Regions from separate parts of the Homo sapiens genome. Here regions 2, 3, 4, 5, 6 and 7 are each linked to region 1. Evidence: promoter capture Hi-C in 16 types of primary human blood cells and fetal thymus (Javierre and others, 2016). All regions are on one chromosome and are shown on one strand. The core of a region is centred on a gene start or on the middle of the fragment in contact, and the rest is flanking DNA. Distances in the headings are between cores, read along the strand shown. Region 1 holds the start of LINC01412 (long intergenic non-protein coding RNA 1412). Region 2 overlaps TEX41 (testis expressed 41). Region 3 overlaps QTMAN (queuosine-tRNA mannosyltransferase). Region 4 overlaps QTMAN (queuosine-tRNA mannosyltransferase). Region 5 overlaps TEX41 (testis expressed 41). Region 6 overlaps TEX41 (testis expressed 41). Region 7 overlaps TEX41 (testis expressed 41).

Region 1 (3,919 bases), core at 1,219-3,718:
GTCTGGGGGAGGGCGGTCTGGTGGGAGGGGGCCGAACACCGCCCCCCCCCGCGACGCGCTCCTCCGCCTGTGCAGCGGGGCCCTTCCTGGAGATCAAATGCAGGGACCGAAGCTGGCGGCGGGGGTTGGGGCGGGGTGTGTGGGGGGGGGAGTGGCAGAGCGCGCGGAAAATTGGGGACAACAACCAGACCTGTTTAGCATCAATAAATTAAGATGCTCATTTGGGTCCTGAAGTTTGCTGGTTCCTGTCAGTGGAGACGTTGGCAAAAGCCCTGAAGCCGAGATTCAGCCTTTACTTCAAAAAAATAAAATAAAATCAACCCCTCAGCTGGCCGCCCTGCTGGGGCCAGGTGACGTGCGAGATTCCACAGCCTGCGGGTCTCGCAGCAGGGATGTTAGGGACGGTCTGAGCTTCTCTGGTCCTGTTTTGGTTTTGTTTGAAAGGGCTTCTCAGAGAGATGCTCCTGATTTTTTTTTTTTTTAATAGACTTTCCCCTCCTATCCTAGGCTCAACTCCGAATGGATTGGATTGCGAGTCTGCACGTGAGAAAACCGTTTGGCTTGGCTTGGACCCCTGCCGCCCCCCACCTCCTCCACACACACCCAGTCCAGGGGTCCCCTTTATCACCCTTTGCTTGCAACTCCAAAAGAAGTTGCCCACCTCCTGAGTCACAACACAAGGTCGAATAATTCCTCTAGATGAAAGATCAGTTTCATTTCAAAACGAGAATAGGTTCCTTTTTTTATTTTCTCCACATGGTACAAAATAAACAGAATTTGCTTTAAAAAAAATCATTAGCTGTGGCCAAATTCGAATTCCTTCTACAGCCTGTGTGTTCAAGGGCAGAAACATTGTATCTCTTCGGGCATCTGGGCCGCCAAGCTGAGCGGGGGGAGGGGGGAGCGGCTGTGAAAGTTGAGGAAATTGACAGACTGAGAGGTGAATGGGGGGACAGGCACCAGGTCCTGGCTGGAGGGAATTGGAAAACAAAAGTGCATCCTTCTCACCCTGCCTGGGTGGAGGGAATCCTGAGGGAGGTAGTTTGTTTTGCCCATGGAAACCCCAAAGAATTATTTTTCCCCCTTCAATGTTGATTGCAATATTATTTCACATTTCCGTGTATCTGTTGTTTTAATCTCTTTCGTCTGCGCTAATCTCGAAGTGGATTATTAATGGGGAAGACAGAGAAGGAGAGATTCATTTGCAGGACTTATTTTGCTGTGTGAGGAGCCGAAAGCCAGCAGCCCCCAGTCCTCTCTCGACTTTTCTCTGCGTCCTGTGCTCCTGCATCCTCCTGATCCCACGATCCCCATTGTCCCCGAACTGGCCCTCGGACTGAGGGAGTGTTCGGAACAAATTTATATTCCGGCTTCCTCCCGACCCCATCACCTCTGCCACGTTGGGAACTCTCTCGGCCAAATGCCTGGGGAGGGGCGTGCCAGTCAGGAACCAGGGGCAAGGCAACCTAGCCGCAGCGCTCACCCCTCGCGGAGACCCTTCCCGTGCCACCATCCAAATATCTACCTTCATGGGAACCTGGAAGACTGCTTTTTCACCCCAAATCAAATACTGGCTAGTCGGAACTCCCAGTGATAAATGTTGGGGACTGCCTCCTGCCACTTGAGCAATTCCTGAGTCCAGGGTAATCAGATGATTAGGTGTTTTTAATGGAAATACTTAGGGTTTTTTTTTTTTTTTTTAAGTCAGATCCTAAGTAACCTGACATTTAATATACATAATAAAGACAAGTGTTTTGTTAGCTATTCGATTGGATCCTTTGACCTGAGGTTATGCTTGTGTGTGTGTCTGGTCTGTAAGCCTCCAATGGCTACCTGGGTGCCTGAAGAGGAGTCTTGCCTGTAATAACTCTATGCAAAGGGCTCCTTCTTCCTTAGGAGTGGTGGAAGGGTGGCTGTAAAGCAAACGTCTAGAGAAAGCTGGATTCCAATCTTTTAAATTAAAAAAGAGGAAAAAAAGGAAGAGGAAGAAAAATGGACATGAACAGTGGTGCTAAATCTCAGAAGAGGAACTTGATAAGTCACACATATATTTAGTATAGATATATAATAATGAAAGAAATGTAAAATATAAAATTAAGAATGTGCCTGACCCATGTTGAAAATCTTTGATTTTATTTATTAATAATTTTTAAGCTGAAGATCCTGAATGCCTTTCTTCTATAGACACTTTATCTGTGATGGGGTGGGGGGAGAGAGTTAATTTATCCAGCAGCTATTTTCATTATAATAAATACTTAAATTAGGAAAGAGGTGAGTAACCAACTGTGAAAATCTACTTTCTTGCATCCTAGAACAAGATCTAGCTGTGGTCGTGCTAGGTAGCTATTAACCACCCCCACCCCACTCCCCCGCCCCGCAAAAAAAAATACAAAATACAAAGACGTATACCTCTGGGAGTGTGGATGTGGCAACCCATGTGGTGGCTTGTCCCTCCTTTGAGTGCAATTGCCAGTGACTCTTGCATTCAAAGTCTTGCTTTAGGCACACATTCAAAGCACAGTTCAAAGCAGTTTATCTTAATATAGTGTTGGATCAGGGTATTATTTGTTTCAGATTTCATCAGACTGGAAACAGGAGGGTGTAACATATTTAACAATATTAAAGCTTAAAAATTGGTGTGAGGCAGCTCTCTGGTCCTCTTAACACCTCCACCTTTACCTTTCCGAAGAATCCTAAATGCTGTGAGGCTAGAAGTTTATTTGTGCTCTGAGGTTCTCAAGCACTTTCACTCTTTAGGAAAAAAAAAAAAGTCTCACAGTTATTTAAGAAATTGAGCCTGAACCATCCGAGGATAGGAGATTTCTTCCTTTTCCGATAAATGCCTGTGCTCAGCATCCTCAAATTTGGCTGTCTTTATTTACTTCTATATTAGTTCCAATTATGTGCAGTGTAAACCAGCTTTTTGATTAACAAAACAGCAGAGCATTGGTTAAGAACACTTAAACTTCAAAAAAATTCCCCTGGGAAGTGGGCTCTGAATTGGTTAATAATGTGCAGTACTTGCTAAATTGCTGACTTCCAGATGTGGAAAATATCTTTCTTGTTTAGGACCTATGTAACCTGATTGGATTACGACAGAAGCGTCACGTTGGAAGCTTTTGAGTGATTATTTAATTAACCATACAGTAGAAAGCTGTATTCTCCAGGAAATCCCTTCCATATTTGCATAACCAATCCCTTCAGAGCAAAGGTGGAGTCTTTTCTTTTTAATCTTACTTTAATTGTAATATCAAAAAATATATACTCCAAAACTTAGACCCCATGCCGTTTAATATCATGCTCTCCCTTCCCTGCTAAGTTTCTCTATGGCCTTTCTCGTTTCTCCTCCTGCCTCCCTACACACTCTCCCTTACTTTGTAGTGAGGTCTCCCCGAGGTGTAGAGAGATTCAGAGATCGGCCAACCGAGTGTTCTATTTTAATTTACTTAGAGACCCTTTATTAAAATGCCAAACTACTTTTTAATATTGGGATCCAGTCCAGAAATTCATCATGCACACACCCTAATACACATGCCCTAAGATGCAGCTCCCATGCAGCATTTTTTTTTCTGGCTCTGGTACCTAAAAAGAAAAAAATAACAATAAGAGAAAGGGCAGAGAACTTTGTTCCAGAAGCTGTACTGAGATACCTACACAATTTGATGTGCATCTCAAATCTGGTCATTAGAGATATCTGTATAAGAAGAGACTATCTGGATTGAGGACCCGGGATCTTTCCCTTTAACTTTCGCCCCTTGGAGTTCTCCAGTTCTGTGAATGGTGTGCACCGTTTTCCGCCCTGTACTCTGTAGGATTTAGTGATGAGGATAATGATGCCAAAGGCTTGACGGGCGGGGAGGGGGGGGTGGAGGGGGGGAGAAGGGAGGGAGGGGGGAGGGAGGCGAAGGCGAAAGGGAGG
Region 2 (4,354 bases), core at 1,237-3,736, 370 kb before region 1:
TCATTAAAAAAAGCTAGATACCTAATAAAAATCATAGCATAGTTTTACATAACGATAAATGGTTAAGAATTGCATAAATGCTACAGAACGTGTCACCTTACCTTGAAAAAGACCTGAAGTGTGCTTGTGGAAGTGAGCCTCAGCAAGATAAAAGCTCGTAAGTTAATGTACAGGGGTGGATGGAGGGCTACATGAAATTATACAGCAAGCTGTAATACCAGATGTGGATAGGTGTGGCTCATAACACATACCGTGAACAGGGTAGCTGGTAGATGTTTGAAGTATGTGCACGTGTGCATTTTGTATATTCCTAAGTAGTGCAGTTCTACTGAGTGCAGTTTTGTATGTTCATCTTGCATTTCTCCAGACACAATTGTACATAAACAAGTGCAAAATTTATGTTATGCAAATTGCTCCCTGATAGTCACATTGGAACAAATTCATATTTTCAATGTGAGCATCACAGCAAGGCTGTCTCTATCATCTTCCAACACAATGAAATAGAAATACAATATAAATCTCAGGCTGATCAATACAGAATCATCCTGGTACAGTTTGCATGATTCTTACACCCTTAAAAAAATCTGTTTTATCTAAATTTAAATTTCTTAAGAGCAACGACTATTCAGTAGCATACCTGGAAGCCCTTTCTCCAACCGCATTTAATATAATAGCATTCAACACATGTTGTTTGGTGAAAATGCCAGAGGAGCCATTGCAATATACCACTCTGATAATATAGTCTTTGACTGCTAAGGTAGCAGAGAGTAAAGTGTAGAACAGTATAAAACAAAGACATTGTAAGGCCATTGTGGCTTTAAATGGAGTTTGACCCTGGATACTAAAAACTGATATGCACACATATGCGTCTAATAAATTATACCACAGCCATGCATCTAGTAAAAAATAGGTGATTCCCATGGTCCTACATGATATTGAAATTTGCTAAATCTTAATTTTGAGATTCTGTTGAAAGTTGATTAACGTAGCTCAATATTGTGGCTTCTCTGCTCGCTGTAAGTTTAATGGAATCACTGTTCAAAACTGTACCCAGTATACTGTTTTGAAACCTGCTCTTCCTTCTATGTTGCTTACTTTTTGTTAATTATGTCATTCTCCACTGTTATTCTAAATATAGAAAGCATTCACTTGCTCCTCACCCTGACCAGGCCAACAAAGAGATAGGTGCTATCTAATTGAGACAAAATCAATTTTACCTACCCACATACAAAAGAAATGTCAGTTAGGGACACTATTTAGAGATCTGAAATTAAAAAACAATAACAATAGAAAGTACTTTTGAAATCAATTTATATAAGCATTATTTAAATAGATTATTAAGCCTACAAGTGTAGACAAGATTCAAATGTGATCACAGAAGGTGAGTAAAATTGCTGATTTTTTTGTTTTCTTATATTAAAAGAGTTTTTTTCCAGTTATATGTGACATTCAGTCTTTGAGGATTAGAGAAAAGACTGTACACATCTTTGTGCCACCAAGGACCTAGCAAATTCTCTTTGGTAGATGTCAAAGGAATGGGTTTTGCTAACAGAATTGAATAGAAACTCATAGAATAAATGAATATATATTTCCCTATTTTTCTGTTTTTTATGAAAAGAGAGGATCTGATGTCAGTACTTCGACATGGTAGAATTTCTTTACCCAGCACCAGTTATTTTCACCTCACCACTCACCACTGTGTATTAATTACTCTTGCAATTTCTGCCATATCTGCATAGCATCTGCCTTGTAATTTAGCTAATATTTTTCTTTAACTTTTGGTTCTTGAACAAATATATCTTTAAGGTAAATGTTATGTCACTACGAAAATGGAAAACCTTATAAAAGAAGTGACTGTGGCCAGGAACAGGGGCTCATGCCTATAATCCCAGAACTTTGGGAGGCCAAGGTGGGCGGATCACCTGAGGTCAGGAGTTTGAGACCAGTCGGGCCAGCATGGAGAAAACCTGTCTTTACTAAAAATACAAAAATTAGCTGGGTGTGGTGGCATGTGCCTGTAGTCCCAGCTACTCAGGAGGCTGAGACAGGAGAATCACTTGATCCTGGGAGGTGAAGCTTGCAGTGAGCCGAGATCACGCCACTGCACTCCAGCCTGGGCGACAGAGAGAGATTCTGTCTCCACAACAACAACAACAAAAAGTAACTGTAAAATTTATCTCAGTGAAAATCAAACACTTATTGAATTCTGTCTGGTGCCTAAGGAAGGCTCAGAGCCTGAGTCCTGTTCTCTCATTCTTTTTTTTTTTTTTTTTAAAGGAATGGTTAGAAGGCAGCTAAATATCCACAGTTATAGACATGCTAACACCAAATAGAGAATTCTTCCTTTCATTAATCGGAAAGAGTGAAAGACAACTGAAGAGACATTAACTTTCTGCCCAAGTGATACATTATCATTTAAAGTAATATTTATATCACAAAATCACCTCATATTCAATGTTGGTACACATGCAAAATTTGGGAGAACATTGGTAAAGTGGAAAAATATACTACTCTAGGCAGCAGATATTGATTCTGGAAAAGATTTTGTCAACCTCATTTGCAACCACAGTCAAGTGCTGCAATTTCTCTGTGCCTTAAATAACTATTTGACAATGGGGAATGTGGATTTTGTATCAAACAGGGTGATCTAAGTTAGGCTGTGGTTACAATCACCAAATCTTACTGACTGTATTTGTGTTTGCTGACTGTATTTGTAGTTTAAACCAAAAATTTTATTTCTCCTTCCCTCTAGATGTTCTATGCAGGTCAGCTGGGATCATGTTCCTGCTTTGTCATCATCCTCACTCCAAGATTCAAGATAACAGAGCTACCACTGCCTGGAATATCACTGGTCACAATGACACAGGAAAACCACCCACTGCTTCTTAAAGCTTTTGCCTGGTAATAACACACGATCATGTTTAATTGGCTAAAGCATGTCATATGTCCACACCTGGCTTCAAGTCAGTATAGAAGTGCAATTCTGCTATAAGCCCAGAAGGTGGGAGTACCAAAATATTTGTGAGTTATAGTAACTTCCATCAACTTAATATTCTCTAAAATCCTTTTAATTTATTAAATTCTATGATTATAACAAAATAGTACTTTACATTTAATGTATGAGTTTTTTTTAATTTGTCAGGTTATTTACTTTGGAAAATTTTATTATATGAAAAAGCTATTACACAAGTGTATCATATTCTTCAAAGATTCATTATTAAACACACTAAAAATTTTAGGAGATTAGAACTTGATATAAATATAAACTATCCAATCAGGATGGTTAAAAGTAGAAAAAGAATTTCTTGGTTTTGTCTTTGAGTGTTACTTAAATAACACAAAAATATGTGACCTAAATAATTTCAATGGTAATAGGAATTGCACAGAATAAAAGAAAATAAATGTTTAGAAACTTGCAAATGTTAGGAAAGTTTTATAATCATTAAATTGCAAAGGTCTGATGTTAGTGGAAAAACTTAGTTTGATCTCTGTTAGTGTGCCCTAGTTCTAAATGCACAGGCTCTCATGGCATCCACGGACTTGCCATGCCTGGTTAGATTTGTCTTCTTCAGCTACCACTCAGTTACTAACAGAACCAGGCTCAGCACCTCCTCCCCTGCATGGCTTGGCCATCACATGTAAAAGTGATCTGGCTTATTTAAACAGAATATTTTTTACTGTTCCCTTTGTTATTACATATCGTAGCAAAGAGCTTTGAGCATTTTACCACTGTCTACATATCAAAATAGGTCATAGAACCTTCACAGGAACATCAAATCAGAAGATCAATAACATCACCATAGCTTGTACCAAACATTTTGAAGTGTGACCATTCTGCCTTTTAGTCTGCTGCCAATATATTCTGTCTTCCATTAGTCTCTTGCGTTCTTTGAGTAGTGATCTCTCTCCAACTTGACTAAAAACTTCTTTGGTGCAAAGCCAAGCTGATGCTTCTTTAGGGTCAACCATAATACCTAATACAATGTTGAGCACATAGTAAGTCTCCTGAAACTTTTGTTGTTGTGGTCGACACCTATTTAGAACAGAAGGAGGATAGACGGCTTTTATTTATTCATTTAAAAAGACAGTTTTGAGTAGCCACAATATAGCGTGGACTGTATGTATAAAACAGAAACAAACTACAAAACCCAGGGCAGTGGTCCTCAATGAGGGTCAATTTCACCTCCCAGGGGACATTTAGCAAAGTCTAAACACAGTTTTATTTGTCATAGTTGGCGGGCGGGGGGCAAGGTGCTGCTGGTATCTACTGGGTAGAGGCAAAGAATGATGCTAAACATCTTATAACGCACAGGACAGCCTCCACCACAAATAATTATCCAGTCTCAAACATCGA
Region 3 (3,899 bases), core at 724-3,223, 380 kb after region 1:
TTGACACTTTTTTCATTTATAAACATGGATAGGCAAGCTTTCAGTTTCCCTTTTTCCCTTAAAAATGAGGAATCAGCCTTTCATAAAATTTTTATATTTGTGCTTTTTAAGGGATTTTACAGATGATGCATCTGGTACCATTAGCAGTCCAGTAATGGAGAAGAAAAGATGTTTTTAAAAATACAAGTATTGTAAGATACTTTACAAGTGAGGGGAGGGTAAGAAAACATGCCAAGAGAAAAAGACCATACTAGATAAGTCTATTGCATAAATCAAAAGAGTTTATGTCATAACATGAACATGTGCCATTCCTGCTCATACATTGAATTTCAGTAGTTGGTTGCATAAAGAAGGAAAGTGTAATGAAACTGGCAAGCAAAGTATTCCGCAGTCAGTCTTATCTTTGTTCCATTTGTCCTTCAGATAGAGCTTTTCTTGCCTTTTTCAATAAAATCCATCCGGCTTTTTTTTTTTTTTTTTTTTTTTTTTTTTTTTTTTAACATTTCTCAGTAACTGCACTGAGAAGACCAGTGAGATTCGGGGACTTTATAGTTCTAAGCAGCTGCTTTTTAAGAGATCAAAACTTAGAATGCTGCTACATGGTATTAAGCCTCAACTATTGATGTGTCCCTATAGGGGATGTGTTTTTCTTGGGGTGGGAAGAGGAAAGAGGAGAGAAGAGCAAAGCATGATCCCTTCAAACATACTTGGGACAGTAAACCCCAATTTTCTTGTTTCCTAGGACCCTCTTTGCAAGTTCAGTGCTTAACCTGACCGAACTGGCTGCCCTTCGGCCTGACCTTGGGAAACTGAAAAAGATTCTGTATTTTCACGAGAACCAGTTGATATATCCTGTCAAGAAATGTCAGGAGAGGGATTTCCAATATGGATACAACCAAATTCTTTCATGGTAGGTATGGATTGTATCATTATATTTGGCCCTTTGCTACCTTTTTCTTTGTAGGTGGTTACGTTTTAAATCTGGAGACCTACTATTGTACACCTTTTTTTAAAACACCATAAGGTAGGTGCAAATATTTAAACAATTCTTCCTTCTGCAGTATATGTAAGATCACAACTAATCATTTTATAAAAATACATATATGTAACAATCTAATTATATGTTGAGCTAATTATCTATTTTTCACAACATTCAAAATAGAATTAAAAGGTTGGCAGGGACCTTCACCCCTTGATTTCATGATCTATTGCTTAAGGCATTTAGAAAGTGCAGTTAGTCAACTCTTACTTATTAATCACGATCACTGTATTCAGCTAAAATCAAAATAGAGTTTTACAGAGAAGTAAAAATTAAAGCATAATGGAGCAACTTGGGGTTTTGTCTCCCCCGCCTTTTTTTTTTTTTTTTTTTTAAATTGTAAGACAGAGAAGACTATGGACAATGAATCCTTAGGTAGTGTTTTCTTTTTTCCTTCGTTGAGTCTTCTGAAATGGCACAGCCTTAAAATACCATGACATTTTAAAGGTGATGGTCCTCTATTGTTACTTCGACAAAGTGTATCTCCTGAAGCTTAGTTAATGAAAGAAGTTAATAACAATTCTGAAATGGCTTTGCTATTGGATCCTATTCACATAACTGCAACAGTCAAACGGAATCTGTTTGTCAGTGATTTTGTACATTTTATTTATCTTTATTAACAGCTATTAGCAACTGGGTTTGATGATGTATTTGAACAGACCCGCAATTCTTGCAAGAATGTTTCATAGTTTAGTTGACATAGAAAAATGGCTATATAGTAATAATTCTGTGTTGTGTGCATTTTGTGAATGTTTTCCTACAATCATTTTTACAAGCTGCTTCAATTGTGAAGTAGCAGTGCTATCAAAATAGAGTGCAACTGCTTCACGTCAAATGTCTCATAAAAAAAGCAGCCGTTTTAAAATTTCATAATAAAATTAAAATACTTTATATTGAAACAGAGAAGGAAAATATGTTTTAAAAATGAAAATAAAATCATTTTGTGCTTTATCAATATGGAAAACATTTGTAATATTCTTTTGATTTCTTGAATTAGCATCATTCTTTTCCTCAGATAGTGTGTTTATTACCCCTGAGAAATCATTGGGAAAAAAACTAAGTCTATTTTTTCCTTTATGGGTGGCTTTAAAGTTAATGGAAGTTACATCCACTCATATCAGGGAGGAAATGTACCAAAAAGGATATTTCTGTAAACTATCTTGGATCTTTAATTTAGCATAGACTGGATTTTTAAGAATGTAAGTCATTGGGTCACATGCCGTTTGAGGGAAGCTATCTAAAAACAATTCAGCTCTCGATTCCTCCTCACTTTCATAAAACATTGTTTTTGCTGATAGGGAATGAGACTATAAAAGTTTTGTACATGATTTTTCAGCATTGCTTTTCTCAAGAGGGTAAACTTATAGACAAGCTTGGAGAGAGAGAAGTGTACTTCATCATCAGTTGGCTTCTTAATGGGGAAAAAATGGTTCACAGTTGTCCAGAGGAAAAATAAGAGTGTCAAAAGGCAGTCCTGTTCAGATTCTCTTTGAAAAGTATGACTCCTGCTTCCTCAAATGTTTCTTTAGTTTTCTTGCTGACTTCTGCTTTTTTTGGCACTGTCAGATTTCTTTCTGGACTGTGTGGCAGTTAAGGACTTTAAAGATGACTGACATAAGCACTCACCTTAAACAGTGATTTCACTAACCCTCTGACTTATGAACACATGTCACAACTATATATTATGACCTGTAGGTCACTATTACAATATGTGACATATGGTGAAAACAAGACTAGCTGTAAAACATCCTTCAACTTTTGGTATATTATTATATTAGCTTCCTTATTGCTTAGTGTTGTGTCAGCACTTCTGTGACATTCCTTTGTATTGTTCGTGTTGTAATCACCCACACCCCCCAAATTTGCACTAGGTAGCAACTAATAAACAATACTTGTATAGAAAATCAGTTTTTTTCAAGGGATGCACGGAAGTAGCAGGCCAACACTCTTTTTGTTCATTTTTTATTCTGCTAGATATTAACATTGTAATAGTAAATTTGGCTGTCTCAGCAAATATGACTTAAACTAAACTGACGTTTGGCTACGGCATTCCTATTCTATAAGCTCTACTTATTCTGTGGTGTTCTGCAGTCCTGTGGACATAACATGTCTTCTTTCCAGTAGTATTGATCTATCATTTTTAGGGTGGAATAAAACCAATTGCTTTATCCCTTTAATCTTGTATACAGATGTTCCTCAACTTACGATAGGATTACAGCCTGGTAAACCCATTATTGTGAGTTGAGAATATGATAAGTTGAAATGCATTTAATACAACTAACCTATCAGACATCATAGCTTAGCCTAACCTACCTTCAACATATTCAGAATACTTACATTAGCCTACAGTTGGGCAAAATCATCTGGCAGCACAGGCCACTGTAGAGTATTGGTTGTTTACCCTTGTGATCATGTGGCTGACTGAGATTTGTGCCTCACTGCTGCTGCCTAGCATCGTGAGAGAATATTGTGCACATACCATTAGCCCAGGAAAAGATCAAAATTCAGTATTCGAAGTATGGTTTCAATTGAATATATATTACATTTTCACCATTGTGAAATTTAAAAAATCTTAAGTTTGAACCATTGTTGTTGCGGACTGGTATTACCACATTTATTTCATTGAATTCGAAGATCATGGTGTTGCGGCGCTTTATAATTTATATGTACCTTTATGTAATCAGTTAGGACCTAGTGATCTGGATTTCCGGATGCATTTCTACCAGTTTCTTCTATTTCTCTGGCTAGCCCAATATAATATAATATGATAGTGAAACAAGTTATTTTGGGATACCATAATCCTTTCTGTGTAGTCCCAGAACTTTTAAAAACTTAACACAGTTTCTTGAAGTAAAAGCTA
Region 4 (4,331 bases), core at 1,706-4,205, 360 kb after region 1:
TTAAATAGTGTATCTATGCATTGTGGGGTTTTAAACAAATATGGAGATGACATGATTTTTTGCCCTTTAAAACCAGTCTCTGGCACTGTTTGCCATATAATTTGCATTGCACGCACACCACAATGATTCCTTTGATTTAACCTTTTCCTACTACTGTGAAAAGGCAATGTTAGCATATATTCCTTATGTATTTACAAATAAAGGGATTTTTATAAAAAGAAAACTTGAGATGATCTCCTTAGTTTAAACTGTACCTTATAGTTATGGATAAATTAGATGTAGGGATTACTAACTTTAGGAGATTTTATAAGGACTTCAATAGGTAAAAGCCTATGTACATACCTTGCTCTTTACCTAAGAATATTTTATAAGTAGAAATTACTTTAAATCAAATAATTCAAAAGGTAATAGGCATGCTTACTATTACAAGTTTTATTGTTAATATTTTTTATTTTTTAAATTTTAAAAGTAATATATAATTGTATAATAGAACTTTGGAGATAAAATATGAAAATTCATAAACCCAGAATCTGTAATAACCTGTTTTACTTCCTTATGGTCTTTTCCTATGTATCTAGTCTTACATTGCTTTAATAATAGTATATTTATAATTTTGTACTTTAGGAAGTTTTAAATTTATTGTTAATATTATTAGGGATCTTTTTTGGGTAAAAATACAATAAAATTTTGTCTTTTGGATAAATCCACATTTTCATATTCCGGGTTTGTTTTGTAGTCTCTACCAAGTACACATATTATAATTCAGAAACAGTTTTGTGTTATTCTATTTACTGCTGTCTCTTCACCCTCTTTTTGTTTCTGTGCCTTTGGCTTTCCCTAGCTGGGCACAGTCAGGTCCACTGATGCCCCCTATCTGCAAACTCAGTCTTGCACAGTACCTGAGCCATTCTTACCTGAGTCAGCTGATAGACACATCCTTAGCTTCAGATGCACACCTGCTCGTTGATGTGACTTATAGTTTTATCCATCCAAGACCTGGAATTCGTCCGCACAGCTGTTTGGGCTCCTACGTTCTTCCAGCTGACATTCACCCCTAGGTCTCTCTTGTTGCCAGTTGCCATGAGATCAGCCCTAGGCCTTTACTTTGCTGCTCTTTCCCTTATCTCTCCTCACCTTTCAACTGCCACCTTTAGCTAACTTGGCCAGATTTTTCTCTCTTTGTTTTTTTCCCCTGATATATTCTGCTTTATTCTATAGGCACCTTCTGGGGCTTTGATACTTCTTCCTTAGTTCCTGCCAGTTCTGTCCGCTGCATAATCCCAGTCAAGCTTGACATCTGTACAAGATTTTCCAGAGTCACTTCCTAAATTCTGAGCAAGACTTCTCCTTGAAATCTTTACTCTTCTGCTTTATTCATTGAATTTAACCAGCATCTTGCCCAAGTTATGCTCTTTTGACCTAGGTTTTTTGATTGGCCCACTGTCTTTTTTGATGACAGGTGTTGTAGGTGGTACTGTTTCCTTTGAAGTATATTCGTTCCTGGAACCAGGTCTCAGCCTCATTTGCAAAGGCCTGAAAACACCCAGGACAGTGTCAGCATGGTTTCTCCTGAAGGCAAATTACCGTGTAAAAATCAGGAGAGCAAAATAAAAATTTTAATGCATGTAGTTACTCTTCTAAATTCACTCACTGATTTTTGTTAGGTCTATTCAGATCCTTTTTACAGCTGAACCATTTATCACTTGAAGCAAAAGGAGCAACTGTCTATGCCACGTCCAAATGTCTTTGTACTATGAAAACTTGAGATGCAAGGCATGTTGTGTCTAGGTTTAACATCACTGTAACACATGAAATAAGAGTCCATCAATGCAAACTAAATTAAAACTGTAGTTGCATAAATAGAATCTATGGTAAGCTCTCTTTGCCTTACCCCATTTATTCTACTTATTGATGAATTTTCATAACTTACTCCTTGAATAAATTATCCAAGAATTAGCCTGTGATTTTCTTTACATATTTCTTCATATTTGTACACAGGTATTGCCATAATAAAATCTTATAGTGATTACTGTTTTTTACTACTTACTTGGGCTGGATTTTAAAATAATGATTACTGTTTTTACTCTCCATTTGGACTGGATTTTTCATTTACAATTTATATTAAAATGGAACAACATTGTCAAGTCTACTGTTAGAAAGGACTCAATCATTCTTTCGTTTTTTTCAACTGTAGGGACATTCATATCCTTTCCTCCCTAGTCATACATGTAACTGGTCCTATCAGTAACATGATTAGATCACAAAACTTCTTTCTGGTAAGATATGAAATTTGGGCATTCACATTTAATTTTAACCTTCTGACATTATGCTGTTCTTTTCCTCTCTGGCTTCTATGTGGAATAATGTGGCATGGCCAGTTTCTTACAAGATGTAAGTGGGTGGGGAGGTTCTGCAACAGGGTACTGGAACAAGACAGCCACAGGGAATTGACTCGATTAAATATATCATTTCCATTGTATACAGTTGTGATGTCCAAGTGATCTGATGATATGAGTCATAATCATAGGAAGCTTTTGGTCATAAATAAATACAAGAAAGAAGTAATGAAGGATCCCAGCTAGTAGAACATGACAATGGAGTGTCTGTTTAACCATCAAGTGTAGACAGGCTGGTACTCGATTTCAGTATGATCTCTTCAGACCACATGTTACCTTTTCTTTCGTGCCATACTCAGATGTCCCAAATTATTATCACTCTTATGACTGACTAACATAGAGGATTTCCAGCATTTTCTTGGGTTGCGTGGAGTTGTCTCAGAGATTTCTATATATTAATATATACAAAGGACATGTTGTCAAAGGAAGTGAAAAAAGGTTGAGTTAGGTGAATTTCCAGACCATCTATTCCTGCTTTACTCAAAGGTGTTTTTGTGTATTTTACGTACCAGTTGTGTGTAAGAATTCATTTGAGAAAGTGGCTGCCTTAAATTAGTCTGAGAGCTATTTCCTCTGTCCATCACAGATAGAAAGACACGATTTGGTGCTGTCTCCCCTCTAACCGTTGATGTGACAGCTATTCATTGAATACCTGTTGACTGCCAGGCCCTGTAATGCTTTGTTAGGCATCTTGATCATCTACTGAGGTATTGAATGATCACTGCGTTACAGTCTTAAGTTTTCCCTCTGGTTCTGCGCATAAGTTACCATGTTTTCTTTCCACATTTTCTTGATAATCTTACAACTTCAAAGTGACTTCTATACCAAAAGTTCCAAAATCTGTCTCCAGTCTCACTTTGCCATGTAATACTCATGTGAGATTTGATAAGTCATCCTTTCTGAGCCTCAGTTTTCTTATTTGTACAACTGATGTAATTACCAACACTAGAAGGATAAAAAGACAGTGAAAGGTACAAGCTTATATAAGTATAAAGGATAATATTATTTTTATTGCTGTAATCAGTAACTTTAGGACCATATCTCAACATTTTTGTAGGAAATGCTTGTTTGTACAGACCCTGACACCTTAAACTTAAGATTTACTAAATAGTGTTCAGTCACTCTTTTTTCTTGCATGAGACACTGTCCTTGATTTTATATTTTTATGATGGCATGATCTTTCCGATAGTCATTACATTTCAAAATCTTGAAGGTACATTTTTAGTGCCTTCTCCTCCTTTAGAGGAGAAATGTTACTACATTTCTTCAGACTTTCTTTGCAACTTGTCTGTATTGCTCTAATCATCTCATAACTGGTCCCTTTTTCTTTAGTCTTTACGTGTACTGTTATGGAATTTTTATTTTTTTGTTTTTGTTTTGTTATTTTTGCCTTTTGTTTCTCTACTCCTAAAAAAATATAGCCTGAAACTTCAGCATCCCCGCACTGTGTACACATTGGCTCACTTGTAAGCCTTGCATTCAAGGTCCTCTACAATATATACTTAATCTGCATTTGCAGCTTTTCTTATTACAACTTTTTCATGAGCCAACCCCTTCAGCCAACCTTTTTGTTTTCAAATTGAGTATTGACCACTTTTATTTCTGTAAGCTCTCTGTCTGGAATGTCTTCTCTTTGTTGAAAAACTACAGATCCAGTCTGGCCTATTGAAAATGCCACCTCCATGAAAGTATTTGTAATATTCCTCAAACACATGTGATTATGGCTCTTCTCTTCTGAACTCACTATCTCACTGTTCTTTACTTCATCTCAGCTATTCCATGCTTGTATAATACCTAAGTAACGGCATAAAATACACTTAACTATTTCTTTAGTTGAACTTGATCACTGTGTATCTGTTTCTTTCCATTTGTGAACCATATTTGAATCAGCCTCGGCCCCATGATGAGAAAGTGGTTGGTGACGGTAATGCAGTT
Region 5 (4,243 bases), core at 19-2,518, 390 kb before region 1:
TTGGGCCAAGCATTTTGCATGTGTTAGCACATTCATTCTCACAACATTTTCCTTTAACAACAATTTTTTAACAGCAACTTAAAAGAAATAGCAGGTTCAAGAAATGATTTTCCTGTGGTTGTCCAGTTAGTAAGAACTGGCCACCTTGCAGCATTTTGTATATTTTCTATTTTCATTTCTTCCTAGATGTGTTCTTGCCTCTGCCTATCTTACTTGGTTTTGTTTCTAGCTCTAAGAGGTGCTGTCTCCTTCTCCTTCTGTTAATTCTCTTCCTCCATGCATTCTTCTCATGTAGTTTCATCCTATGACATTATTCACTCAAATCATTTAAATCTTCCCCTCCTAAGGATGAATTCCAGGTTTATATTTCTAGCCAAGATGTTCCTCCTGATTTGGGGCACACATGGAAATGTAGCTCTACCGCTTGTCCCTTCTGTCCATAGACCTCTGTCTTTCTCGTGCCCTTTCCATCTAGCCAATCTTGTGAAAACATCGAATTTCCTTTTACGCTATTTTAAAAATCGTTCTCCCTGTCCTTTCTGATTTCAGTTGTCCAAATGAAGAATCACATTACTTCTGCCTCATTAATTGCAATTCCTTTGCAATAAGGGAAAAATTAATAACACAGAAATTAGAGTTAGAAGGCCCCAAATTTGAACTATAGCTCAGGCACTTACCATGTGCTCCGGAGCAAATTACTTTATCTTCCTACACCTCACTTTTCTTTTCAGTAATGTGAAAAAATAATACAGTGCTATTGTGAAGATGAAATAAAATCATAGGTATGGTATAGTAACACCATAATGCCAAACCAGGAACTCAATCCAATTTATAATAGCATAAAAAAAAACTACAAATAAAATACCTTGAAACATATTTAACCAAGGAGGCGAAAGATCTCTACAACGAGAACTACAAAACACTGATAATAAAAACCACTGATGACACAAACAAATGGAAAAACATCTCATGCTCATGGATTGGAAGAATCAATATTGTTTAAATGGCCATACTGCCCAAAGCAATCTACAGGTTCGATGCAATTCCTATCAGAATACCAAGAACATTTTTCACAGAATTAGAAAAAACTGTCCTTATATTTATATGGAACCAAAAAAGAGCCCAGATAGCAAAAGTAATCCTAAACAAAAAGAACAAAGCTGGCGGCATCACATTTCCTGACTTCAAATTATGTTACAAGGCTACAGTAACCAAAACAGCATGGTACTGGTATATAAATAAATACATAGATCAATGGAACAGAATAGAGAACCCAGAAATAAAGCCACATACTGACAAGCCACTGATCTTTGACAAAGTCAACAAAAACATAAAGTGCAGAAAGGGGAATTCCCCTATAAATAGGGGAATATTACCTATTCAATAAATGGTGCTGGGAAAATTAAACAGCCATATGCAAAAGAATAAAACCAGACCCATGTCTCTCACCATATACAAAAATTAACTCAAGGTATATTAAAGATTTAAACTTGAGACCTGAAACTATAAAAATCCTAGAAGAAAACCTAGAAAAATTTCTTCTGGACATTGGCCCAGGCAAATAGTTTATAACTAAGTCCTCAAAAGCAAATGCAACAAAAATTAAAACTAACAAATGGGACTTGAACTAAAATACTTCTGCATAGCAAAAGAAATAATCAACAGGGTAAACAGACAACCCACAGAATGGGAGAAAATATTTGCCAACTATGCATCGAACAAAAGGCTAATATCTGGAATCTACAAGAAACTCAACAAGAAAAAAAGACAAATAACCTTATTAAAAAGTGGACAAAGGACATGAACAGACATTTTTCAAAAGAACACACACAAGTGATCAAGAAACATGAAAAAAATGCTTAACATCACCAAGCATTAGAGAAATGCAAATAAAACCACAATGAGATACTATCTCATTGGCTACTACTAAAAAAGTCCAAAACCAACAGATGTTGGAGAGGATGTGGAGAAAAGGAAACACGTATACACCATTGATGGAAATGTAATTTGTACAACCTCTATGGAAAACAGTATGGAGGTTTCTCAAAGAACTAAAAGTAGAGCTACCATGTGACCCAGCAGTCCAACTACTGGGTATGTACCCAAAGGAAAAGAAATCACTATATGAAAAAGACATCTGTACCTGTATGATTATTGCAGCACTATTCACAGTAGCAAAGTCATGGAATCAACCTAAGTGTCCATAAACAGATGATTGGATTAAAAATGTGTTATATATACATATATATCACATGCATATAACACACACACACACACATAAATACTACTCATTTAAAAAAATGAAATCATGTTTTTTGCAGCAGTGGATGGAACTAAAGGCCATTATCCTAAGTGAAATAACTCAAAAACAGAAAGTCAAGTACTGCATATTCTCACTTAGAAACAATGGGAACACATGGGCATACAGAGTGGATGAATAGACACTGGAGACTCCAAAAGGTGGGAGGGTAGAAGGGGAGTGAGGGTTGAAAAAGTATCCATTAGGTAAGACATTGACTGTTTGGGCAATGGGTACATGAAAAGTCCAGACTTCACCACTACGTGATATATCCAAGCAATAAAATGGTACTTGTACCCCCAAAATCTACAAAAAAAGTTTAAATAACACAGTAATTATTCAGCCAAAAAGTGATTATTATATTATTAAGCTGAATTTTTGACCCTAGATTCTTCCCCAACCATTTGCTATAAAGCAGTCCCTGTTCAAAAACTTTTCATGACTTCTCTTAAGGACTCAGTTTCCTCAAGCTTCCATGAGTTCATCTCAAGTTTTTTCCAGATCTACTTTCCCATTTTACCCTCTCTCATTTCTCCAGTCTACCAGCCACAAGCCAATACCCCTGCAGTTCCTCTGACACAACTCCTTACCCACACCTTGCCTTTTCTTAAATAGCACTCTCGTTATTAGTTATTTTAATAAACTTTTATTCTAATATTCACCAATCAAAATTTGATCCATCTTGTAAAGATGGAGATAAAATTTCCATCAGAATTACTGTGGTACCACCCAGTTAAAATTCATTTCTCTGTCTTCTGCATCCACATATCAGCCCAAAGTTCTGTTAATGTAGTTAGTGAAATCTACCCTTTGTCGGTGTTACTACTTAGTCATGTGTCTGTCTCTCCTCAGACAGAAGGACACAGACGTTGGTCCTCTTCCTGTCCTCCCACTTCACCTACCCAGTGCTTGTTACAGAGTAAGTGCTCAATAAATATTAGATAAATTGAAATGAATTAAATATTTTCAGACTTAATATCCTGAATAGGTAATGACGTGGAGGAAATTTCAATTTTCTTAATATCAGAATCTCCTTACAAGAAGAGCCCAATCTTAGTGGAGGGAATACTTTGCTGAGCTAATTGGGATGAGGCGTCCATAAGAGAATTGTGAGACCCACAAGGGGGCATATTTGGAAAAGCAACAGATAATCTATAAACTGCTTTCTAAGGCGGGTAGGTTCTTTTCATTGCAGGCTTTGTGGGTGGCAGGCAAGCAAACTTGAAGAAAGAGATGAATTTCTCACGAGAAAGGAGATTTGAGAGAAACGGAGGTTCAATGCTGAAAGGAGACAGGGAAGCTATCTTTCTGGGAAGAACATACATGTCTACTGTGCATTTTTTTTCACACGCTGCCTGATGCTGTCAGATAAAAATCATCTTTCCAACCCCCCCACCCACCATGAAATCATCAGTAAAATTCCATATTTCATCCCAAAGCACTGTAGAATATAACTTAGTTTGGGATGGATGCAGTGATGGGCTGAAGCCTCCTTCAAAATGGGAATAGGACAAGAACTGAATGGTTCAGCCATATCTATATACTATTTATATAATATCCTGCTAGTATCTCTTATTTCCAGGATATAGGAATAAAATAATTTAGTGTAGTGATGACTATGGTTCCTTTCTCACTTTACATTCCAAATCTTGTATTTGCCTGAGTAAGCATCATAACCAACCATTCAAACATTTATAGAGTGCCAGCAAAACATGGTATTCTATTAAGTAGAAAACAATAATTATTATATCAATACATAATTTTTTTTACTAATAACATCTGCTACTTACAATATGCCAGGCACTTTCATAAGTTTATTATCTCATTTAATCCTACCTACAACCGCACACTGCTAGTATTTCCATTTTAGAGGCTTAGAGAGGTTGACGAACTTGCCCACAGTCCCAAAGCTAGTAAGAGACAAGGTCAGGAGTTAAGTCTATT
Region 6 (4,008 bases), core at 1,389-3,888, 500 kb before region 1:
ATAGATCAAAGTTTTACCCTTTTGCATGCCATGTCGTATCTTGTGACATCCACTGTGTTCTCTTATGTTTACATCCTCTCCTGTTATTGGCTTATTTTATAACAACTTGCCTGGTCACAAGAACTGCCTGGGGAGCTCATTAAAAATACCATTCTCAAGACCTTATTCCTGAGAGGCTGACCCGATGAGTCTGGAACTGGGCCCAGGAAACTACATTTTTTAAATGCTCAAGATAATTTTCACGATTAAGCTTGCTAAGCACTGATCTATGTCTTCACCTAACCCATCTTCTAAGATCAACTTTATTTTTAATCGGTGTAAGTAGTATTTTCACTAGACATACTTCCGGGGAAAAGGGTGAAGTCTACTCCTTCAATCTGTTCACTGAGAAATAGTTTTCCTAAATGTCTTAGTGTAAAATGAAAGCACAACTAGACTTGACATTAATTCATTTCAAAGTGACAGTAATGAGTGCCAGGCCTACTTCTTGATGAGGGTTTTGATAGCGGTGTCCTTTAAGGAATGGAAAGGTACTGAGTTACTGAAGTGCAGACTGGAAAGGAAGTGGGCACAGTAAATAGATACAGAACTGAGAGGGCTGGATGAAAAGAAGACTGATGTGATGCTGCCTTTGTCAGCAACGTGTCTAAACTCTGCGCTTTGGAGATATACTAAATCCAACAGTCATCTGAGAATAGACTGAATCTGCAAAAGACTACATGGATTTTGCTGATGTTAACTAAAAGAAAACAAAAACAAATGCACACACAATAAAAAAACACAGAAATGACAATACTTCCATAGAGATTATAAATAAAGAGAGACCACACTGGTGAATTTACTAGCACGTGGAAATTTTTCAAATGTCAGGTTCCATCATAACCACGTGAATCGAATACAAGCTTCATTGTATTTATGTGAGCGGTATCAAGAGATGTTTTGAAAGAGAATGTAGCCAATATGCTACATGATGTCAATACTAATGTAAATGATATTGATGAATATCAGAAATACTTACAACAGTAAATAGTTAAATATGAAATATCATGAAGGTAATTCATAGGTACGTTAATGTGTTTCACTTTGCCTATCATGTCCCACCCACTTCTTAGCCACTCTAACCAATGAATTTTATACAAGTGGCTTTTGCCCTTTTTAGTGCATTCATTGCCAGCACGGGTGGTAGGGAAGGTGTGAGCAAAATGTCAAGGCTCTTACTGAAAGAAGGTACACCTAGACCAGGGTCTAGAATCTAGCCCTTGACACCAGCATTCACTAGATTTAGGAACTAATTTACTTTTTCTTATCTAAGCCACTACTGATTGTAACACACTTCCCAAGTTCAGAAATGTTAAAAGGTGAAAAGAAAATGTACATCTTATACAACGGACTTTGGGGACTCGTGACAAAGGGTGGGAGGTGGGTGAGAAATAAAACACTACTTGGGTACAGTGTACACTGCTTGGGTGATGGGTGCACCAAAATCTCAGAAATCACCACTAGAGAACTTACGCATATAACCAAACACCACCTTCTCCCTAAAATCCTATTGGAATAAAAAATAAATTTTTAAAAAAGAAAATGTGCGTCTTAGAATCAATAATATGTAGAAGCCCTTAAAGTTAAAAAAAATAGGCAGGAAGACTCCTTAGGTTTTTAAAGGTATTTATCAAAGAAACTCAAAACTGGCAAAGAGCTAGGAATTGCCAACCCCTGAGTCAGTCCCCTAGTTACTGGCTCCTATGAGGATGACATGAGCTGCTAAAGCCACTTTGTCATGGCACAAGGACCTTTGTCCCTCTCAGATAAGGCTATGACACAATGGACAAGAGACATCTTTCAGAAAGCAGATCTTAGGGCAGCCAGACTGGGGGACCATGGAAAGCTCTCTACTACCGGAAGAGAGCAGTCCTGCTACTCCAGTCCAAAAGAATATGATATATGCCAAAAACTCCAGACCATTGTAAGTTGTTTCCCTTTCTCTCTTTTTCTAAATGGTAGTTTTAATAAATTTATCCTCTCCTTCCTGCTCTATCATCTATGGAGGGGATACTAGAAAATACCATTAAGCACTCAGTGAGTGAACCATGGAATTTCCACATCAGAATCAAACTCAAGGCAAATATATACCCCTCAAAGATCCTGAAGATACACCTGAGAAGCAGTAACAGGGCAAGATTTAGCTTTATTTCTCCTTTGGAAGGGGTAAATATGTTTATAGGAGACAGGAGTGTCACATTATTTTAGGCAAGTGCATTACAAAATTATTCCCATATAAAATGTAAATTACTTCAACCACTGTGGAAGACAGTATGGTGATTCCTCAAGGATCTAGAATGTGAAATACCATTTGACCCAGCAATCCCATTACTGGGTATATACCCAAAGGATTATAAATCATTCTACTATAAAGACACATGCACAGATATATTTATTGCAGCACTATTTACAATCGCAAAGACGTGGAACCAACCCAAATGCCCATCAATGATAGATTGAATGAAGAAAATGTGGTACATATACTCCATGGAATACCATGCAGCGATAAAAATGAATGAGATCATGTCCTTTGCAGGGACATGGATGAAGCTGGAAGCCATTATCCTCAGTAATCTAACACAGAAATAGAAAATCAAAAACTGCATATTCTCACTCATAAGTGGGAGTTGAACATTGAGAACACATGGACACAGGGAAGGGAACATCACACACCAGGGGGATGGGGGATGAGGGGAGGGAACTTAGAGGACGGGTCAATAGGTGCAGCAAACCACCATGGCACACGTATACCTACGTAACAAACCTGCATGTTCTGCACATGTATCCCATTTTTTACAAGAAATAAAGAAAAATAGTAATAAAGATATTCACTGGGAAAAAAAAATTATTCCCATATAAAGAATAGTACATGTAGAAAAAAATAGGGCACAGTAGTAACCTGTTAATGTATATCCATTACAGATATTCAGCATCATATTTGCCATCATGATATTTGCCATCATGTGGAGACAGCTTGTTTAAAATGAATCCATCATACAGGAAAGTAAGTCCTGGAAAAGGGAGGGAGAGAGATTAAAAATATGTGTGTGTGTGTGTGTGTGTGTGTGTGTGTGTGTGTGTGTGTGTCTGTGTGAGAGAGAGAGAGAGAGGAAAACGAGCAAGGGGAGGAGAGATGTGGCAAGGGAAGAAAAGAGTCCACAGGACAGAATTCCTGGAAACATAAGAAAATATAAAAGAGAGATTGAGTTGACTTTTTATCTCCGTCAATTGAAAGAGACCTCATTAATACAGGATTAATTGGCTTTTAATTCAAATTTTTCAATAGCTTTGCAAAGGTAGGGTTGAATAAGAAAGCTGTCGTTGATTTACTGTCATTAACTCAGTGAGAGTAGAAAGAGAAAGCTGATTTCATATTTCACCTCCACAGAGAATATGAATCTAAATTTACCAGAACAGATAGCCAGGAAACATGCTGCTGATGAGGTCAATAACAAACAGCAATAATAGCTAATAATTATTGAATCTGTACTATGTGCCAACAGTTAATAATATATTTACATTCCCTCAACAACTAAATGAAGTACTTACTCCATCTTGCAGAAGACTTACTCCATCTTACAGATGAGAAAACTGAGGCTTAGGGAAGATCAATCATTTGCCCAAGGTTTCACCACCAGCTGGGACTGGAACCTAGCCTCTTTGCCATCAATCATCCATGCCTGACCACCATGCTCAAATCAGGACAAGTATAGCACTTCCGAAGTACCAATAAAACTTTTGAATTTATCTTTATCTCCTGCTCAAGTCCAGAATGAGAGTAAAAAGCATTTTTCCTCTGCCAGCAATACCACTAACATTGCTATATTGACATTATTCAGCAAACTGCTTTCACTTAGGAAGCGTGGTGAAAACTCACTGCCCAAATACTCGAGACAGTTTTCCAACAAGCCCAAATTCAACTAGAAATAGACCCAAAAAATTCAAAAGTAGTAGAAAAGGTGGAATTTA
Region 7 (4,297 bases), core at 507-3,006, 350 kb before region 1:
AAATTGGCTTCAGCACAAGCTTATTATTAATGCAGACAGCTAGTTTATACCATGAAAAGCACATGGTATCTCTCTCTCCAAAACCATAGCTGTCACTCAGGCACCCGCAGATTCAAATAAAAGCCATCAATGTGACAACAGTTTTACACTTTTACATATTTTTACTAAATATCACAAGTTTAGTAATCAGTATTTTATGTTGCCTAAGAAAATTATAATTCATCTGCTCAATGGCAGCTTTACATATGTATATTTAAAAATTACTATATAAAAGTATTAAAACATATTACAACACTTGATTTAGATTTTAAATCGTATTTGTCTCTCTGACTATGCCCCAGAGTAATGCCCCAGACACACATATCAAAAACCTTTTATTTTTAGGTACCTCAATATGTTAAAACTATTTTCTCTAATGTTTTTTAAAATTGACATATTTCAGAGCTTGCACACACACACACACACACACACACACACACACACATACATGCAGACACACTCACTCTACCCAGTCAGAAAGGAACTGTTTGTTCAGTTTGCAGATATGAAATCATTAGGGACTGGATTTCACTACGGGAAATTTGAGTATCATGTACTGTTAACGCAAAATAAAGAAATAAAGCCTGGGAAGTTAGAAGATTATTTTTTTTGGAAATGCATGTTTAGAACTTAAGAAAGAAAAAAAAATAAAAACATCTTCTAATGGTAAAGCATTAACAAATACTTTTTCATATGAATAAAATCTGTAATCAGTTAGATAAGAGCAATGTGCCTTTTTTTGGCATTTAATCAAACAATGAAATCATATACACATTTCCTGACACAAAAGACAAATGATGTAATAATCTGAAGGAGTTTCTCTATCTCCTTGGAACTTTGCATACTTGACTTGTTTTCCATATTTTGTGACTTTAAATGGTGGGAAAATTATATTAAAATGCTTGTAGCAGTTCCTCTAAACTAGCATCCTTTTTGTTTTATTGTATTTAATATAAAAGCAGCAATTATTTGATTTCAAAGTTATGAAAATATGTACCTTATGAGAAAACAAGCAATTTAAGCTTTAATTGGTGTCATTTTTCACAGAACTGGCAAGATTCTTGCATCCCTGGCACGTTGTTTTTCTATAAAACTGCAGAGCTGCCTTCCATGAATGTTTTACGAACGCAAAAGTTGTTATATGAAGGTATATGCATAGATGCCTGGAAATATAAGATTTCTGGTGGGAGTTATTTACAAAAGATGTATTTCATTTGTTACTGTGTGTGTAACAACTCCTATTATTCTCAATGTTTCTCTCTTCTCAATAAGACTGTTCTTAGCTCATGTCTATGAAACATTGGGACTTATGTCTAAAGTAAAATAAAAGCGGATGCTTTGATGAGGGAAAAATAGAACACTTGAGAAAAGCATAAAAAGAAATTACAATTTTGACTAAAACAAAACCCTATTATAATATGTTGAAAGGTTAATTCTGGTTTTAATCAGAAGAAAGATAATATAGACTATGTACTGAGAGGCTTGCCTTACATAAATTACATAGAGGCACCACAAGACTATTTTCTGAAGTGTTGCCTTACCATGAATACCTTTATTTATTCTGTTCATATTATATATTTCCCACATTTTCCAAAATAGTGTTATGTTCTGAAGGACAAATGTTTTATATATGCTTTGAGAGATTTCACCATCGTCTCATTTCTAAGGACTTTAGTGATTTCCACACCTGGGGAGGTATTTCTTTGTTGTTGGTGGGTTTTTTTTAATGAAAATTCCCAGAGCCACTGCCAAGGTTTCGTATTCAAAAGATCAGAATAAAGGTAGAGAATCTGTGTTTTTTTTTAAATGTCTAGTTGGTTTCTATAAGCAGCCAGATTTGAGGGAAACTGCAGATTAGTGGACTTTATGCAGAAAGTTCCTGTTGGGGGACTGGACATTAGGATACATAAGTATTCTTTATATTTCATTTACATCTTTGTCTTTTTTTAATGTTGGCTATTTTTATTAATAACTATGGCTAATACATACTCAATGTTACTGTATGCCAGGCACTAAGCTAACCACCTTGTACGCTTGTATCCCAACAATCCTACAAAACAGAAGAAAATGTATTCTTTCCTCTTCAGAGATGAAGACATTTTTTGTTAGGGAGTAATGTACAATGGTCAGACAGCAAGTGATGAACAAGTAAGAACTAGAATCTAGGTCTGTGTGACTCTAAAGGTCACTTTTCTAACCACTGCTCTATATAGAAGATTCAAACAGAAAGGGAGCTGCAGATGTTTTGAAAACCTTTTCATGTTGGCTACCCAAATAAAGTATTAACACCACTAGGAATTATGTGATCTGAACTATTGATATCCCCCTCATTAGTATCATTATTGGTTTGATTCAATTTTGATTCAAAATGAACCACCCGACACTGATTGAATGGCATCAGAACAAGCTTTTCCATTGCTGCCATTTTCCACAAGCATCAATAATAAAACGTTTAAATAGTAGCTCAGTGAGAACAAAAAAAATCTTTATGTTCAATCTTTCAACTAATAATCCAAGACTATATTAAAACTCTACCAAGATATGACCAAAGATACAGTTGGGGAAGTTTAAAAGATTTTTTTTTCTGGGAAACAAACAAATGCACTTCCAAATGGGTATCAATGAATTGTGCATCTTTCAGATATGTCCTTTGATCCTGAGAGTTTTCCATGATCCTTCCAATTTGGGTTTTGGATCCCGTAGCACTTTGAGATCATGCCATTCAGAGTACTAATCTGTGAGTTGCTGAGTGGCAAGGCTTCTGCCATTTTTCTCTCTATCCCCAGATATAAGCATATCGTTCTGAGCATTACCTTAGGGAACTGGAGACATTATTTAGGCCCAGAAGAGCTATGGAAGTACCTGAAGACAGAAGTGAGGAAAGAAAGCCAGTGAAGTAATATGGGCTCCGGTTAAGGAAGGTGACATATGATACAGGTGTAGCAAAAGGTCAAAATCACAGGAGTGAGTAGTTGAGCAGAAGCTGATAAGTGTGTGCTTGAGAGGAGAAGACCGTGGACTAAGGCAGAGACATTTATCGAGTGTTTTCCTAGCACTGTGCTATGTACAGGATAAGAAGTGTGTTTTTATTTCCTGTTATAAGTAAACAACTATGAACATTTGTCATTTTGACTATTTATTTGTTCAGGGTGTTTTATGAGTACCTGCTGTATACTGGGCCCTGTCTTACACTATTGTAGAAACACACACAATCCTAACTCCTGTGAGGCTCAGTCTAGTAGGTGATAAATAACAAGTAGAAGAACTGGAGGAAACAAATATTTGATCACACATTATGATGACTGCTGTGAGCACGTGTCTTGAGTCCCCCACATCATAATGCCATCCACTGTTTCCTTTTGGAGTCACGTATTTTCAGTTCAGAGATGAGATTAAATACTTTGTAAAGAACACCCGGTATCAGTTCACAAAGTTCAAAAGATAACTTCTAAAATAATGTGCATCACTTTTCCTAATAAGTAAACCCAATAAGACTTCATATATTCACTTGCTTCTGAGTGATTCAGGTTGAAGGGGACAAGAGATACCCTCTGGGTGCAGGAGTGAGCTGGTCTGGCCAATATGAAGAGGATCAGGGACTTGACTCTTGCCTTCTAGAAGTTCAGGCATCTCAGCAATGTCAGAAAGAGGAGAGGGTATTGTGCCTGTCAGGACTGGCCATTTTAAGAAACCCGTATTAGAATGTGATGTCATAAGTAAAGTCAAGTCTTATGGCTTAATTTTCTCAGTGGAGATTAATGGGAATGGAGAGATGATTTGTTCTGAAATTAGGGGTTTCAGGTGGGAGGCAAGGACAAAGTGTGTCACTTCCACCATTGCCCCAGTCCCGATGCTCACCTTTGGCACCAGCACAGTCCTGCAATTACCATCCTAGATTCACCAGGATGACTTCACGTCCTGCAAGATGCTTTCTCATCACAAGCTAAAAATTTCTTTCAACCCTAAAATAGTAACATGAAAAATGCCAGAGCACAATACAATTATTTGCAAAAGACATCCCATCTGCCTAAAGAGTCACATGAAAGCATAGCAGCCAATGTGCTCAAATAATTAAATAATTGGATATGAGCCTGGGTGGGGGAGCAGAGAGTGAGAACCAGACATGGGAATAGAAGCTCCTTGTTTCCCAAAGCCAGATCAATCAGGATGGAGAGCAAGATATCACAGAAGCAGCTAACAGGCCACCAAAGTCCCTGCCATTTGGTGAGGACAGACTGCTATGGTTTATATTGTGTGA

Evidence for each region. The method cuts DNA at HindIII sites, captures the fragments that hold promoters and counts their contacts. A CHiCAGO score of 5 or more calls a contact.
Region 2: a contact is called between a fragment that was not itself captured here and the fragment with the promoter of LINC01412 in region 1, in 1 of 17 cell types (monocytes). The highest score is 5.4, in monocytes.
Region 3: a fragment that was not itself captured here is called in contact with the fragment with the promoter of LINC01412 in region 1 in 2 of 17 cell types (total CD8 T cells and activated CD4 T cells); the score reaches 5.6 in total CD8 T cells.
Region 4: a fragment that was not itself captured here is called in contact with the fragment with the promoter of LINC01412 in region 1 in 4 of 17 cell types (total CD8 T cells, activated CD4 T cells, non-activated CD4 T cells and 1 more); the score reaches 8.6 in total CD8 T cells.
Region 5: a contact is called between a fragment that was not itself captured here and the fragment with the promoter of LINC01412 in region 1, in 1 of 17 cell types (neutrophils). The highest score is 5.4, in neutrophils.
Region 6: a fragment that was not itself captured here is called in contact with the fragment with the promoter of LINC01412 in region 1 in 1 of 17 cell types (neutrophils); the score reaches 6.6 in neutrophils.
Region 7: a contact is called between a fragment that was not itself captured here and the fragment with the promoter of LINC01412 in region 1, in 1 of 17 cell types (neutrophils). The highest score is 7.8, in neutrophils.

Annotation. Positions count from the first base shown.
Region 1 is chr2:144,520,417-144,524,335 of GRCh38, reverse strand. It overlaps LINC01412 (long intergenic non-protein coding RNA 1412), which reads right to left and starts at 2,468. Exons shown (of 3, transcript NR_110570.1): 1 at 2,410-2,468. ZEB2-AS1 (ZEB2 antisense RNA 1) reads right to left here. Exons shown (of 4, transcript NR_040248.2): 4 at 3,437-3,582. It overlaps LINC02993 (long intergenic non-protein coding RNA 2993), which reads left to right. Exons shown (of 2, transcript NR_136320.1): 2 at 508-792. The HindIII fragment of the contact is 4,746 bases long and covers 1-2,627 here.
Region 2 is chr2:144,889,567-144,893,920 of GRCh38, reverse strand. The region is part of intron 2 of TEX41 (testis expressed 41); the gene reads right to left. Among named protein-coding and RNA genes, the nearest start is that of LINC01966, 9.8 kb to the right of the region's middle. The HindIII fragment of the contact is 815 bases long and covers 2,079-2,893 here.
Region 3 is chr2:144,142,583-144,146,481 of GRCh38, reverse strand. It overlaps QTMAN (queuosine-tRNA mannosyltransferase), which reads left to right. Exons shown (of 12, transcript NM_001376312.2): 5 at 743-910. Among named protein-coding and RNA genes, the nearest start is that of QTMAN, 190 kb to the left of the region's middle. The HindIII fragment of the contact is 880 bases long and covers 1,534-2,413 here.
Region 4 is chr2:144,159,419-144,163,749 of GRCh38, reverse strand. The region is part of intron 4 of QTMAN (queuosine-tRNA mannosyltransferase); the gene reads left to right. Among named protein-coding and RNA genes, the nearest start is that of QTMAN, 170 kb to the left of the region's middle. The HindIII fragment of the contact is 843 bases long and covers 2,534-3,376 here.
Region 5 is chr2:144,910,018-144,914,260 of GRCh38, reverse strand. The region is part of intron 3 of TEX41 (testis expressed 41); the gene reads right to left. Among named protein-coding and RNA genes, the nearest start is that of LINC01966, 30 kb to the right of the region's middle. The HindIII fragment of the contact is 3,006 bases long and covers 1-2,771 here.
Region 6 is chr2:145,023,393-145,027,400 of GRCh38, reverse strand. All of the region lies in intron 3 of TEX41 (testis expressed 41), which reads right to left. All of the region lies in intron 3 of LOC100505498 (a long non-coding RNA gene), which reads right to left. Among named protein-coding and RNA genes, the nearest start is that of LINC01966, 140 kb to the right of the region's middle. The HindIII fragment of the contact is 3,468 bases long and covers 905-4,008 here.
Region 7 is chr2:144,871,112-144,875,408 of GRCh38, reverse strand. The region is part of intron 2 of TEX41 (testis expressed 41); the gene reads right to left. Among named protein-coding and RNA genes, the nearest start is that of LINC01966, 8.7 kb to the left of the region's middle. The HindIII fragment of the contact is 1,385 bases long and covers 1,064-2,448 here.